Regions from separate parts of the Homo sapiens genome. Here region 2 is linked to region 1. The links are contacts of gene promoters, found by promoter capture Hi-C in human tissues and cell types (Jung and others, 2019). All regions are on one chromosome and are shown on one strand. The core of a region is centred on a gene start or on the middle of the fragment in contact, and the rest is flanking DNA. Distances in the headings are between cores, read along the strand shown.

Region 1 (7,951 bases), core at 1,481-3,980:
GCAGGCACCTGTAGTCCCAGCTAAGGCAGGAGAATGGGGTGAACCCGGGAGGCGGAGCTTGCAGTGAGCCGAGATCACGCCGCTGCACTCCAGCCTGGGCAACAGAGCGAGACACCATCTCAAAAATAAATAAATAAATAAAATAAAAACCCTTTGCTTGTAAGCCATCAGGAAGTTTAGGTCTTAAGCTTTAGCTGCCCAGTCTCCCTGCTTGGTGCCTTACAATAAATGCTTGTTCTCTCCCTGCAAATCTCCATGTCAGTGTTTGGCTTTTGCTTTGTGTGGATGGGAAGACCCAAGTTGAGTTTGGTAACAAGACCCAGCTAAGCTGTTAACTCCACCAAGTTTAAGGGCCAGATCCAGACACCAAGGGGGTTGGCCCAGCTTTCGTTCTCACTGAATTCATCCTGAAGGTAGAGACAATTCATTAAGCCAGAAGGTAACCGGTATAATTTCCATGTTGTGAAATCACTGGGAATCGAAGACTTGAGCCCATGAATAGAATATGGCTCACCTTCTTCCTCAGGAGAACAGAGGTGACACCAGGGGCTAAGGGGCAAAGAATGAGTCTGAGTCCATATACTGCTCCCTGATAGAGAACAGCCCTGCGGAAAACCTAAGAGTCAGTCTAGCCAGCCCAGCCAGCCTGGGAGAATGTCCCCCCTCTCCCACCTCCTGAGGACACCTTGAAGTTTTGAGCTTCTAGATATGAGGTCTATAAGCAAACCGTTAAACATGAATACTAACTTAAAAGACTGCCCTCCTGACTCAGAACCCCACTGACTGTGGCCACACTGTTCGTTCTTTCACGCTTACCTCTCCTCATTTAAAAGGGAAATAAACATCATACATTTAACTGACTTAGCTGTCCCATTGCTCCTCCTTACTCTTAAACCAGGAAGGATGGAAAGAACACTTGAGTCAGGGTGGTGGACGTACCAGTAAGGACAGAAAAGTGACCTTGTCCCTTAGAGACCAGCAGTCTAGTGGGGGAAAAGACAGGTATACACATAATTACAACTCCTGGAGTAAAGGGGAAACCGTAGCCCTTAGCAAACTGCAACTCTTACTCTGGTCTCATCCTACTCCTAAGTAGGATAAAAAATAATAAGCTGAATAAACAATTCATCTTATTATTTTTTAAGGCAGGGTCTCACTCCATCACCCAGGCTGGAGTGCAGGGGTGCAATCATGGTCCACTGCGGCCTCGACGTCCTGGGCTCAAACGATAATCCTCCCACCTCAGCCTCCCCAGTAGCTAGGACCACAGGCATGTGCCAAGACGCAGGGCTAATTTTTTTTTTTTTTTTTTTTTTTGAGACAGAGTCTCACTCTGTCTGTTGGCCAGGCTGGAGTGCAGTGGTGCAATCTCGGCTCACTGCAACCTCAGCCTCTCGGACTCAAGCAATTCTCCTGCCTCAGCCTCCCGAGTAGCTGGGATTACAGGCGTGTGCTACCACACGCGGCTAATTTTTGTATTTTTAGTAGAGACAGGGTTTCCACCATGTTGGCCAGGCTGGTCTCAAACTCCTGACCTCAGGTAATCCGCCCGCCTCAGCCTCCCAGAGTGCTGGGATTACAGGTGTAAGCCACCGTGCCCGGCCACGCACGGCTATTTTTTATTTTTTTGTGCATACAGGGTCCCCCTATGTTTCCCAGACTGGTGTGGAATTCCTGGGCTCACACAATCCTCCTTAGCCTCCCAAAGTGCTCAGACTAAAGGTGTAAGCCACTATGCCCTGCCCCGACAATTAAGCTTAGTTCAACCCCGTTATCTCTTCAGGAGCCACAGAGTCTGAGGATATGAAAAGGCAAGAAATTAACTTATTCAACGAATATGTATTGAGACTGTGCTATGTGCCACAACTTCTGCTAGGGCCCCACACTATGATAGGAGGGACCCGCCCAGACATGAGGCTTCACCCACTGTGTGGGCGGCGGTGGGGATGGTCCAGCGGAGGCTGGGGCCCTGAGATCAGATTTGAACGTTACCACTGCTATGGTTTTTGGCCAGTTGTTTCAAAAGCCTTGGACAATCAGCCTAGGCTTCCTAGGCCCATTACAGATCCTCCTCTGACAGGTCCCTAGTGGTCGCTGGCGTGTAAGGAACTGCTAACATTAGCCCTTCAATGTGTCCCAGGGACCAGTAGGCACCTCCTCCTTTATCACGTGGCTATGATATGTTTACATTAACATTCCCCCAGTAGACTGAGATCTCTGATTCTAGTACCTGCACCCAGCGCAGGCCTGGCATTCGGTGGGCGCTCAGTTAATGCCTGGCGAATGAAACCTTTTGCCTCTTCCCTGAAAGCATTCCCTGAGGGCGCACTCGTAAAATGCCCGCTGCATCTGGCCTGGCCCTTTCCCTCCCCGTCGAGTCCATTTTATCCGTCTACCCGCCAAGACAAGGCTGTAGTTTCCGATTGGAGGATTAAGGGCTGCTCTCGGTCGTGCCCTAAAGCTGCAAAAGACTGGTACCCCTGGGCTCCGGCTGACAGCGACCCCGAGCTGGTGACAGCGGCCCAAGGCGACTAACAGCGGGATCTAGCGGAGAAAGGCGCCGCCGCCGTTAAAGGGGGTTGGTCCTGTCCCTAACTTGGGGGCCCCGCCCCGAGATGCGAGGTCTGGAGGGCGCAGCGTTCCAGCACCCACCTCTGCCAGGGCCGTCTCGGCCGCCCTGCTCCGCTGCCCCGGATACGACCAGCGCCGCCATCACCTGCCTGCGCATGTGGTACTAAAAAGACAGCGCTGGAAGAACGCGGAGAGCGCAGACATTGCGATCGATCGCCGATCGGCCAGCGGGGGCGGGGGATACCCGCTGGGCGGGGCCATAAAGGAGGAGATAGGGGCGGGGCTGTAGTGGGCTCCACCCCAGCCCAGAATGCCGGGACTCAGGATTCCCTAGAGGTCCCCGACTATGCAGTTGCCCTTGCCCTGCGACTTAGTCTCCCACTCCTCTCCCCGGCCGGGCACGAGCCTGGCACTCCCGGACCGGTGCTCTCCTATGTGCGAACTCCCTGCACGAACTCTGCAGGCCGAGTCTTGTGAAGGGGACACCCACCAGATGTTCCTTGAGCCCCCCCTGCCAGTCTCCCCTCCTGGTAAGCAGTGGTCGGTCACCCGGCCGCCGTGTGGGGCCACGTTCCCTACCTAGGGGGACTCTACTGTCCGGCAGGACAGAACTCAGGGACCACCAGCCCAGCTCCAAGTTGAGAGTCTTGGTGCAGGTTTGTGGATCGCCCTTATCAGCTTTTTAAATTATTTTTTTTGAGACAGGGTCTTGGTCTGTCGCCCAGGCTGGAGTGCAGTGGTGCGATCATGGTTCACAGCAGTCTCAACCTTCTGGGCTCAATTCATCTTCCTGCCTCAGCCCCCTGAGTACCCGGGACCACAGGCGTACGTTCAGCTAATTTTTTTTTTTTTTTTTTTTTTTTTTTTTAGTAGAGATAAGGTTTCACTATTTTGCTCAGGCTGGTCTTGAACCTCTGGACTCAAGCAATCCTCCCACTTTGGCCTCCCAAAGTGCTGGGATTACAGGCGCGAGCCACTGCACCCAGCCTTTATCACCTTTAGAATCCACTGCGTAGACCCTGTAGAAACTGCCCCTCTGGGGAAGGCCCACAGCCTGAGGGTGCTTTCCTGGGAAGGTGGGCAGTGGAGGACTGTGATGTCTAACCCTTCTGGACCCTGGCCAACCTTTGCCCTGCCCCTCAGGGCTGGTCTTTCTCCTGATCACTGGCCAGAGCCCCAGAGACCCCAAAGAGAAGACAGCCAGTGAGACGGCTTTGACCTGTGGAAGAGCAAAGTACCTGCAGGACTGGCCCTCAGCAGTCTGTCCCGTGGAACAATGGTCTTCCAGGTCTGACGGTCTACCCAGCCCCCTGGCATCCTCCTCCTCTCTCTGCGGTGGTGCTGTGATCACAGCTGGCCCTTTAAGTCAGCTCTGTGTCCTCGGGCTCCCCCAGAGGCCCTCCCTGCTTGGAAACCCCTAATTAAGGTGCAGGGAGAAGTAAAAACAAGCAGCCAGAGACAGGCCCTGCCTGGGAGGCTGCCCAGAGAGGAGGAATGGCTGGACAGGCAGGGAGTGAGCAGCTGAGGGACCATCACCAAGGGTCAGTGCTGTGCCCCCCAGGCCACCGGCACTCTTAGGACAGGTAGCTCTAGACAGAAAAGTGACCAATGTGGGTCCCAGGAACACTCCCCTCAACTCGATAAGCGTCCGGACTAGACCTTCCCATCTCCCCCCAGCTTCTCTGGATCCCCAGGGTGCAAGATCTGAATTCTGGGAGCTCAGCCCCTCCTCTCTCAGGACACTGCTGCCCAGCCTGTGGACAGCCTTAGCTGTGACTGCAGCATGGAGTTTCAAGGGGAAAGGACTGGCTCCAACTGAGCAATGGCTTCTCCCTAGCAGGCGCCATATCCCTTGGGACCTTTCCCTCATCAGAGGTGGGGCCTGTTTGATGGCAAAAGTCCCATCCCTCTAGTAACATTGCCCCGCACCCGCTGTGCCTAATGAGCTGCTCTGGCCCCCATTAGGAAGCCGGATGATGCCTAGGAGAACTGGACATGAAGAACAGATGTGAGAATGCTTCCCCAAGACTCCGTGGTGCAGGACATTGGGGGCTGCCATTCAGCTTGGGCTGAGGGCACCTCCATCTGTCTGTGGGGGTCTCCCTGCCTGAGTTACTCAGCAGTCTGAGTAATTACTGCCTGACAAGAAGGCGGGCACAGTGCACCCCCACAGTACACCACAACACCCGCCTTCACTCGCCCCCACTCCCTGGCTGGACTCCAAGGCAGCACCCAACCCTCCTGAGGCCTGAAATAACTCTGCTTCTCACACTCACGCCCAGCCCCAGCCAACTTTTCCTAAGACGCTAGAGTTTGTGGGCTAGGGGGTCATGGGGAGGCGGCTTGGAGAGGTGGAAGGAGGATTATCCCACATTCAGGCCCTGAGTCAGGCCCACACTTTATCGCTGATCTGTGATGTGACGTTGAGCAAGTTGTTCATCCTCTCTGGGCCTCGGTGTACTTACAGAGGACCTCTCAGGCTCCCAGTGTCAGGGCTAAGGCAGGCAGTGGGGTGAGCACTGCCTTGTAGCTGGTGGCTAAGAGAAGGAATACCTCACCTTCTGTTCTACGCCAAGAGGGACCAATCTTTTTTTGTTCGTGTTTAACTGCTCCTGTGGCCATGGGCAGTGTGCCCAGAGTAGCAGCCATCCATCTTTTTTTATCTTTAAACATTTTTTTGAAATAGAGATGGAGTCTCACACTGTTGCCCAGGCTGGTCTCAAACTCCTGGCCTCAAGCAATCCTCCCACCCCAGCCTTCCAAAGTGGTGAGATTATAGGTGTGAGCCCATGGTCCTCAGGAAGGACCAATCTTATCTATCTTCAGAACAAGGTTACTTCTCACCTTCAAGCATCTACGTGGAATGCCCTTCCCCCTTCTTAGTGTGGTGAACTCAGCCTTCAAGACCTAACTCCAAGGGCACCTCTTCTGTGACTGTTTCCTGATTATCTGGTAGCCCCTGGCAGAGCTAGCAGAGCCCTTTCGCAGTCTTTGTGACTTCTGTCAGTCACACTCTAAGATGGTTTGCGGGTCTTTCTTTTCCCACGACACCTGAAGCTTCTGGAAGTCCAAGCCCAGAGCCTTAGCTCAAATCTGAAGCTTCAGTGCCACCAAATGCAGGTGTGAGTGAATACGTCAGACTGGCCTTCTTTTTTTTTGTTTGTTTTGTTTTTTTGAGACAGTCTCGCTCTGTCACCCAGGCAGGAGTGCAGTGGTGTGATCTCGGCTCATTGCAATCTCCATCTCCTGTGTTCAAGAGATTCTCCCGTAGCCTCCCAAGTAGCTGGGATTACAGGCGCACACCACCACGCTCGGCTAATTTTTGTATTTTTAATAGAGACGGGGTTTCACCTTGGCCAGGCTGGTCTCGAACTCCTGACCTCAAGTGATCTGCTCAGCCTCCCAAAGTGCTGGGATTACAGGTGTGAGCCACCGCGCCCAGCCTGGCCCTTTTTTTTTTTTTTTTTTTGAGACAGAGTCTCACTCTGTCACCCAGGCTGGAGTGCAGTGGCGCGATCTCGGCTCACTGCAACCTCCGCCTCCCGGGTTCAAGCGAGTCTCCTGCCTCAGCCTCCCGAGTACCTGGGATTACAGGCGCCTGCCACCATGCCCGGCTAATTTTTGTATTTTTATTAGAGACCGGGTTTCACCATGCGGGCCAGGGTGGTCTCGAACTCCTGACCTCGTGATCTGCCTGCCTCCGCCTCCCAAAGTGCTAGGATTACAGGCGTGAGCCACCGCGCCCGGCCCTGACCTTCTTTTTGACCTTCCTATCATGTCACCTTTTCCTACAAGGAGGGATTCAGTTGGATTTCTGCTTGGATGTCACCTGCTCAGAGCAGCTTTCCTTGACTGCCACCTCTACCCCCGTGTCAGCTCCAGAACAATACTCTGCTTGTTTTTCTTCGAAGCACAATCTTCCCATCTTCTCTGGACTTTCCTCATTTGGCCCCTATTAAAATGGAAACTCCTTGAGGACAGGGCAAAGACAAGTCTTTTTCGTCTGCTGAATTTTCAGGAACAGTAGTGCCCCACACATGCTGAGCCTTCGGTGAATGTGTGTTGAATGACAGCCTTGGTCCATCCGCTTTTTCTTCTCTCCGAATCCCTCTGATCCCAGGCCAGCAGGGGGTGCCGCCTCCACCCAGGATCTCGCCTGGCCCGAACCTTCTCTTCCCTCAGCTCAACAGGCCCCTGCGGGACCCGCTTTCCAAGCGGCGCCTCCTCCATTTTCCGCGAACCCCCCGGCGGGGTCTGTGTGGACCAAGGGAGATCAGAGACCCCCCGCCGCCACCCCACCCAGGCGGAGACGGCCCACCCGAACCCGCACGGGTCCTTCCTTCTCCCTGGAATTTGCAGCTGGCCCTTTCCGAATGCTTGCTCCCCTCCTCTCCCCACGAAAGAACAGTGTCCTGGGACTCGGGGTGCGGGGCAGCCGGGTTCGCTGGAGCTGTTCAGTGCGGGGAAGAGCCGTCGAGACTGGGAGAAGGGGCGCTGGCCAGGGAGGAGACGGGGCAGGGAGCGGACTCGCGATCCGTACTCTGGGCGGCGGTCCTCGCGTCCCAGCCGCGTCTCCCGATGACCTCCAGCCGCGAAGGGCGAGCGGGCGGGGGCTGGGCTGCGGGTTCGGGCTCCAGGAGGCCTGCGGGGCCGGGGAGGGGCGTGGAGTGGTCCGAGGACCGGCTTGGGGACTGGGGGCAGGTGCCTGGACGGACGCGGGCCGAGCATCTTCCCCGGGGGCGGGCGCAGTGAAAACACCTTGGGAGGCGGCGCCGCGCGGCTGAGCGCTGCTGCCTTGGGAATAGGACGGCGCTCGGCACTGCGAGCTGAGAGCACTTTCATAAATTTTGTATGGGAGGCGCTCCGTGAGCGGGGGCGGGGAGCGGAGCGAGAGGGAGGGAGCTAGAGAGCAAGGGAGGGAGGGAGGAGGAGAGGAGGGGGAAGCCGGGGGGAGGAAGGGAGGCGCCCCGCTCCGCCGATCGCTCGGTCCTGCAAACGCGCGCCGGGCGCTTTCCCCGGAGCTCGGCGGTGCGTGCGAGCGCCCTTTTGCTGCAGCCGCGGCGGCGGTGGTCCGAGGGGGCGGAGAGGAGGGGGCTGCGGCCGGCCGGCCAGGGGGCGGCGTCCCCCCTCAAAACCGCCTGCGAAGTGCTCCGGGTGGCAGAAGCAGGCCGCCGGCTCCGCGGAGCAAGCCGCTCGCCCCGGGGCTGAGCAAGCGCGCGGGGCTGCCGGGCAGCACCACGGTTGCTTGCGGGCGCCGGTGCCCTCGGCGCGGGGCTGGAGCTCACCATGCCCCTGCGGGGCCGGGCCACCGGGCACGAGCGGATCCCCGGCTTGCCCCCGCCTCGACGCGCTCGGATTAGCTGCAGCTGGCGCCCAGGGA
Region 2 (7,951 bases), core at 3,495-5,994, 560 kb before region 1:
CGAGCCTCAAGTCCCTTTGGCAAAAGAGCGCATGACTCACTGCTTTAGAACTCAATGGGAAGATATTGAAAATTCACTCTGCCCTAATATTTTGCTTTGGGTTTTTTAAGACATCTTCATCTTATTTTTATTTATTTATTTATTTTTTGAGATGGAGTTTCGCTCTTGTTGCCCAGGCTGGAGCGTAATGGTGCGATCTCGGCTCATTGCAACCTCCACCTCCCGGGTTCAAGCAATTCTCCTGCCTTAGTCTCCCCAGTAGCTGGAACTACAGGTGTGCGCCACCATGCCCGGCTAATTTTTTTGTATTTTTAGTAGAGACGGGGTTTCACCATGTTGGCCATGCTGGTCTTGAACTCCTGACCTCAGGTGATCCACCCGCCTCGGCCTCCCAAAGTTCTGGGAGTGTAAGTGTGAGCCACCATGTCTGGCCAGACATCTTCATCTTAATGTTGACAATTTCTATAGCATCCATGACTTATTCACAAAGATGACAAATTATGAATAACATGAACCACATGTAAACAAGAGGGTCTTATTTTTGCTGGATACTTAAAATATAAGCCATAAAGTCTCATATACGCAGACAGACAGACAGACACACACACACACACACTTTCTGTCTCTCTGTTACTTAGTATACAACTGAGAGAGAAACATTTATATTATTTTTAAAAAATAGAAAATAGGGAAGGGTGTGGTGGCTCACATCTGTAATTCCAGAACTTTGAGAGGCAGAGGCGGGCGGATCACGAGGTCAGGAGTTCCAGACCAACCTGACCAACATGGTGAAACTCCATCTCTACTAAAAATACAAAAATTAGCCAGGTGTAGTGGCAGGCACCTGTAATCCCAACTACTCAAGAGGCTGAGACAGGAGAATCGCTTGAACCCAGAAGGCAGAGGTTGCAGTGAGCTGAGATCACCCCACTGCACTCTAGCCTGGGCAACAGAGCAAGACTTCCCCTCAAAAAAAAAAAAAAAAAAAAAAAAAGACACGGATGTTCTAGCTAGAAAAGCATAAATTATGATTCTGACTTTTCCTTCCCAGAAACATCTCAAAATCTCTTTACACTAGAGATATTTTATCTGGAAAAACAGGTAACAAAAAATTGTACTAAAAAATTCCTTCCAATCTCATTAAGAGTTCTATACAGAACTATGAATAATTTTAAAAATTAATCTCCAAATTAAGCCTAAGATTCTCCAACATGTATCAAGAAACACTACATACACTTGGAACTAAAGCTCCTTAAGTCAAATTATCTTAAGCTCCTGATTAACAACAATCTACTGAAAAATCACCACTCAGTGTGTGGGGTTTTGTTTGTTTGTTTTTGACAGAGTCTTGCTCTGTCGCCCAGGCTGGAGTACAGTGGCACGATCTCGGCTCACTGCAACCTCCGCCTCCCGGGTTCAATCTATTCTCCTGTCTCAGCCTCCCCAGCAGCTGGGATTACAGGCGCATGGCACAAGACATGGCTAATTTTTTTGTATTTTTAGTAGAGACGGGGTTTCACCATATTGGTCAGTCTGGTCTCGAACTCCTGACCTCAGGTGATCCACCTGCCTCGGCCTCCCAAAGTGCTGAGATTACAGGCGTGAACCACTGCACCTGGACCTTAGTGTGCTTTGATATTCTACAAACAGTAGGAATAGGGATATGTCAGACACATAATACAGTGAATTATCATTCCCAACCTTACTCATTTCCTCACCATAATAACCCTTCTACTTTCTAATCATATTAAAAAGAACAAAAGTGTAAAAATACATCATACACTGACAAGCATTCATAAGGCTAATCAAAGTCACATTTACCACCTATATGTGAAATTCTTTTGAAGATGTCTACTCATGTGAATGCTTGATACAGGGCATTAAAATGACCTACCCTAGCTTATGGCAGTATCTCACAAAAAGGTCCCTTTCAAAGAGCAACACAAGAGAAAAGATCTGAAGGGGCTTTCATGCAAATTATCTTATCCTTTTTTCCCCACCTTTTATGTTCACTATTTTAAAATCTCAAATAGATTTACTGTTTTAAGTAAAACAATTGTAGTATTTTTCTTAGATTATTGCAGTATTCCTGTACCCCCTATTTCTTGCCAAATATTTCTGACATTAATTTATACTTATATGGCGAGAACAATAAAAAACATTAACAAGAGTGTAGATATATGTGTGTGTGTATCTTTATATATTAATATATACACACACACACACAGGGACAAATAAGGAGACAATAAGTGTCTATTTTAAAGCAGGGACATTGCTTTTTATTCCAATCATTCAATGCCCATCATGCAAAAAAGGTGGAAAACATTAGATTTTAAGACTTACGACAGAGAAATGACTTAGTTGTAGCAACCATTCATATCAAATAACCTTACAAAACATAAGCAAGAGAAAGACGCTGTGAAAGGGCAATACAGCATTTCACAGCTTCTGCTCCCTTACTCCACCCAGTCTTCTCGGCTCAATGGCTGTTCACAGCATCCACAAATATTAGCCCATTTTTTTAAAAAAGGATGTGGGGGGAGGTACCAACGTAGGGCTTGCTCCATCAAAATCAACATATACAGAAATACTTCAAGTGAAAAATTGGATTCCTTTCTGATTTTAAAATATATACCAGCCTTCAATTTCTTTTAGGAGATTCCCCCCTTCTGAGCAATCCAAACAATGATCATTAATGAACACGAAAGAAATCACCCTAAATACAGATTACTCTTCTGCTTTATTAAAAACTGCAATTTGCAACTGCTAATTATTTTGTGAAACTGTGTCCTAAAAGACACCCATTAGAGATTAAAAGCTAGCTAATGCCTTAAAACCAAATCAGAATTTTTTAAGTAAAAGCTTTTACTATATATTCAACATCACTATGACACAGTCAACAGGAAATTTTCCTGATTATGAGACTGGACCCCGCAGCAATTAAGCCGCCCTGCTGCAGCAAAAAAAAAAAAAAAAGCAAACACTCCTGTGGCAAAAAGGGAGGGATGACATTATCACTGGTATGAAAGGCCCAAGCACTGTCTCCTCCGCCCTAGCCTCGAAAAGAAATTCACACAAAATAACCCACCCCCCCAACAAAAACAGAATTGCCAAAAATGGCACAAATTGTTTGTTTGGCCTTTAAAACCTTATGAAACTCCAAGACTGTGTGCTTAAAGGAGAGATGGGAATATCAGTAATATCTCTATTTGTCCGGACTGCCACTTAAGGAAAGAGGGAGGGGGGACCTTGGCATGACATCGCCCATTGAGAACGAGACCACAAATCTGGTCCTCCTCTTCAAAGGCGTATTTTCTTAACCAAAAGACTGATATAAATTGGGCCCAAACCCCAAAAGAAAATTTCCTGCCCTCTTCCCAAGGAGTTTCTTGCTAAGTCACTGAAGAAAGGTAGCATAACATATAAAGCTATGGTACCTTGCTCTCTCCTACTAAATACGGAAAACCTCTTCCCCTCTACTGCTACGTTTAGAGGTGCAGAGTCAAAATGTGTCGACCACCTCAAAGGCATTTTCTCATGTGGGAGGCTAAAGAGGGTAAATATGCAGAGGCACTGCGTTTCCCAAAGGGGCAGGGAGATGAGATTAGACGAAGGGGAATGGCAGGGAGCCTCGAAGCTGAATGTTAACAGCATCAAAAGGCAACTCCCGACCGAGGAGCCGGTGGCAGAAAGAAAATCCTGCCAGATTCGGTGGGTGGATGCTGCGGATTGCTCGGTGGGCCGGGCTGCCTCTCCTCGGCGGGTGCTGAGGCTGGACCGCCGCACCGGGGGCCAGGGAGACGGTGGGCCACCCTCCGCTGGTCAACCCCATCTTAAGGACCAGTCGGGGACGGAATGCCTGGAAGGCCCTATGAGTGCCCCGGCGGCGCGGGGCTGAGCCGGTCCCCGAGCCGATAACTGAGGGTGGGGTGGGGACTGCGGTGCTCGTCTCCGCGGCCGGGGAGAGCAGGGCCGATCCTTTTCCCCAAGATCAGAGAGCTACCTGGTCCCCACGCCCTTCCAACCCAAGAATACTTTTCTTGCTAAGTCACCGAGGGAGGAGGGCGATCCCTTCTTGGGGAGGGCCGCGGGGCGGGGGTCGCAGAGGCGCCGGCAGCCCCCAAAGCCGGGCCCGGGAGGAGAGGAGCGAGGGCAGCGCCCTCCCCGGACAGTCCCCCTCCTCCGGGTCTCTCACTCAACGGCCGTCGCGGCCGCCATTTTGAGAGCGAGGAGAGAAGAAGAAGGAGGAGGCGGCGGCGGAGGCAGGGGGAGGGGAGAATGGGAGGGAGGGGACCGGCGCAGCCACATCGTCAGGCCGCCGGGTCCGGCCTGCAGCCGCCCGGGCGCGGTGGAGGAGACAGAGGGGAGGGCGCAGACCCGCGCCGCCTTACCGGAGCGCTGCACCGCCGCCTCCGCAGGGCCTCTTCCGTCCTTCACTCCCATCCACCGGCGGGGGAGGGGGAGGGAGAGGGGAGGGAGGAAGGAGGGAGGGAGGGAAGGAGGGGGGAGGATGGCGCGCTGGGCCCGGGCCCGGGGAGGGGGAGGGGAGGGGAGCGGGCGGGCTCCTCAGCCGTTCCGGGGCTCGAGTCCAAGCTCGGCGCTCGCGGTTTCTCTCGCTCGCGCCCGAGCGCTCCCCTCCTTCTCCTTCTCGCTCCCTAGACTCCCGTGTCGCTGCTCCTCCGCTCGCTCACTCGCTCTCCCGGCCGCCGGACTCCGCCGCCGCCCCGCCGCTCCAGCTCCGTCTGTCACAGGAGCTGCCCCAACGCCCTGACGTCACCGCGCCGCCGCCGCCGCCGCCGCCGCCGCCCCAGACCCGCCAGGAAGAGGGAGGGGCGGGCGCCGGGAGCGGAGGAGGGGCTGCGGCGCATGCGCCGGGCTGGGCCGGGCCGGGGCCGCGCTGCCTTCTAGCGGGCGGGCGGCTGAGCGGTGCCACCCGGCCGGCGGGCGAGTCTGCGTGCGAGGTGCTGCTTCTCACGCTCCGCACGCTTCTGTTAACCTTGGGAGAGGCTCTTTTTTCCCAGCCCCTCGTCTGACTTGCGGCCCCTTCTGAACTCTGGCTCTGCTCACCTCGCTGCCCTGCTTTTGCGCTCATGCGGCCGACCGCGGCGTCCCGTTGGCACCGTGTGTGGCGGGCCCCGGGAGGCGCGAGAGGCAGCGGGGCCCGGCCACCTACCGCCCCTTTCTGCCTCCGGCCTCCGAGATGATTTCCCAGTTTGGGGGGGAATGAGGGAGGGGAGTAGGCTGGCTGGCTTGGGAGGAGGAGCTGTTGAGGTTAAAAGGCAGATGGAATGCTGTCATTGTCTTGATTTGTATTATAGATTCTTAATTGGGAGGACTCGCTTTTGGATATGATTCAGCTATTCTTCTCCTTAGTCACACACAGACATCAGAGTCTCTCCAGGTCTCGAAACGGATGCCCAAAGAAAGGCCTGGAACTGTATCCCTATAAGGGATGTCTGTGTGTGTTTGCTAAATTATGGATTGAAATATTGATGACAAGAGTCGTCTTGGGGATTTGTAGTTAATTTATTCCACACAGATACCTATGATTTTTCTTTTCTTTTCCTTTTTTTTTTTTTTTTTTTTTTGAGACGGAGTCTCGCTGTGTCGCCCAGGCTGGAGTGCAGTGGCGCGATCTCGGCTCACTGCAACCTCCGCCTCCCGAGTTCAAGCGATTCTCTGCATCAGCCTCCCGAGTAGCTGGGAGTACAGGCACTTGCCACCACGCCCAGCTAATTTTTGTTTTTTGTTTTTGTTTTTGTTTTTGAGATGGAGTCTCGCTCTGTCGCCCAGGCTGGAGTGCAGTGGTGCAATCTCCACTCACTGCAGGCTCCGCCTCCCGGGTTCACGCCATTCTCCTGCCTCAGCCTCCCGAGTAGCTGGGACCACAGGCGCCCACCACCACGCCCGGCTAATTTTTTTGGTATTTTTAGTAGAGACGGGGTTTCATCATGTTGGCCCGGATGGTCTCGATCCCTTGACCTCGTGATCCGCCCGCCTCTGCCTCCCAAAGTGCTGGGATTACAGGCGTGAGCCACCGTGCTCAGCCGACCCTTGATTTTTAAAAAGCGAGATTTGGGGTTCTGAATAATTCAATATGGGCTATTATTTTAATAACAGGTTTAAATGAGATTATCTTATCATTCATTTGTATTGTCCAAGGAAGCTTTTTTCTTGAAACAGGCTTAAGCTTATGTGTACTGATTTTATTGCGTCACTTTATGTAGGTAAATATATATATATATACTGCATTTGAGAAGCAGCAGAGTTAACGAAAGAGACAACTTAGGTGTAAATCCTGGACCCCGCACTTGCCAGAAGCGCGACCTGGGGCAAATTACCATACCTCTCTTTGGCCTCAGTTTCTCAATAAAAGACACCTAATAACTAACCCGGCTTTTGTGAGAATTACAGAGGAGGTGCAGCCTGTGTAAAGTATCTTAGTTTCGTGGGGACTTATAGGTAACTCATGTAAACATTACTGTTGCTTGATACCAAAACAAGTTTCCTTTGTTCAAGAAAGGTTATCTCTGCCAGGCACAGGTTGCTAACCCCTGTAATCCCAGCAATTTGGGAGGCCAAGGCAGGGATGGGGAGGTTGGGAGGGGGGCCGTGGATCACCTGAGCCAAGGAGTTGGAGACCAGCAGGTGCAACATAGTGAAACCTCATCTCTACAAAAAAATTTTAAAAATTAGCTAAGTGTGGTGGCACATGCCTGTAGTCCCAGCTACTGGGGAGGATGAGATGGGAGGATTGCTCAAGCCCTGGAGATCCAGACCAGCCAGGGCAACAAAGCAAGATCTCATCTCTAAAAACAAAAAAAGAAAAGAAAAACAGCCGGGCGCGGGGACTCACGCCTGCAATCCCAACACTTTGGGAGGCTCAGACAGGTGGATCACTTGAGGTCAGGATTTCGAGACCGGCCTGGTCAACATGGCGAAATGCCATCTCTACTAAAAACACAAAAATTAGCCGGGCATGGTGGTGTGTGCCTGTAATCCCAGCTACTTTCGGGACTGAGGCATGAGAATCGCTTGAAGCCGGGAGGCGGAGGTTGCAGTGAGTCAAGATCATGCCACTGCACTCCAGCCTAGGTAACAAAGCCAGAGTCTGTCTCAAAAAAACAAACAAAAACAAAAACTTTTAATTAGCTGGGTGTGGTGGCGCATGCCTGGAGTCCTAGCTACCCAGGAGGCAGAGGCAGGCGGATCGCTTGAGCCCAGGAGGTCCAGGCTGCAGTGAATCATGGTCATGCTACTGCACTGTATCCTGGGCAGACTGGACCCCCATCTCTAAAAATAGGCTGGGATCAGTCGTTCAAGGCTGTAATCCCAGCACTTTGGGGTGCCAAGGTGGGAGAATCTCTTGAGCCCAGGAGTTGGAGAGCAGCTTGGGCAAGACAGGGAAACCCCGTCTCTACGGAAAAATAGAGAAATTAGCCAGATGTGGTGGTTTGGGCCTGTGGTTCCACCCATTGGGAGGCTGAGATGGGAGGATCGTTTGAGCCCAGGAGGTGGAGGCTGCAGTGAACCGAGATCACACCACTGCACTCCAGCCTGGGTGACAGAGCAAGACCCTGTCTCAAAATAAAGTTAAATTAAATAAGTAAAATGAGTAAAAAAGAAAGATTGTCTCTATCCCCTAAGTGTTCAAAGGCAACATGAGCCAATTGCATGAAGGCCTTGGGTTTTTGCCTCATGAAGATTTGCCAGAGATGAATCAAATTGTCTTAGAAAGTCTTGTCCAGTTTTACATTTCTGGGATTTTCAGATAAGGACAATAAAATGAGGCATAGAGCTTTGGTCTGTGCTATTGCTTGGGTTCAATAACAGTCAATAAACATGCAATAAATTAGCATCCCTTTGTTCTAAGAATCCACCCTCCCTTCATTTTTACCTTTTAAAATATTTATTATGGTCTGATATCATGCTACTTAATATTTAATTAGCT

Evidence for each region. Contacts are between HindIII fragments. The study calls those that stand out against the background at their distance.
Region 2: a contact is called between the fragment with the promoter of PAFAH1B1 here and the fragment with the promoter of DPH1 in region 1, in 1 of the 25 tissues and cell types used here (adrenal gland).

Annotation. Positions count from the first base shown.
Region 1 is chr17:2,024,932-2,032,882 of GRCh38, reverse strand. It overlaps DPH1 (diphthamide biosynthesis 1), which reads right to left and starts at 2,730. Exons shown (of 13, transcript NM_001383.6): 1 at 2,653-2,730. The coding sequence starts at 2,713. It overlaps RTN4RL1 (reticulon 4 receptor like 1), which reads left to right and starts at 7,549. Exons shown (of 2, transcript NM_178568.4): 1 at 7,549-7,951. RefSeq lists enhancers at 1,799-2,390, 2,391-2,982, 6,488-6,988. The HindIII fragment of the contact is 15,169 bases long and covers 973-7,951 here.
Region 2 is chr17:2,590,447-2,598,397 of GRCh38, reverse strand. PAFAH1B1 (platelet activating factor acetylhydrolase 1b regulatory subunit 1) reads right to left here and starts at 4,744. Exons shown (of 11, transcript NM_000430.4): 1 at 4,392-4,744. RefSeq lists silencers at 3,896-3,945, 4,006-4,065, 4,476-4,705, 4,756-4,975 and an enhancer at 4,810-5,538. The HindIII fragment of the contact is 12,163 bases long and covers 1-7,951 here.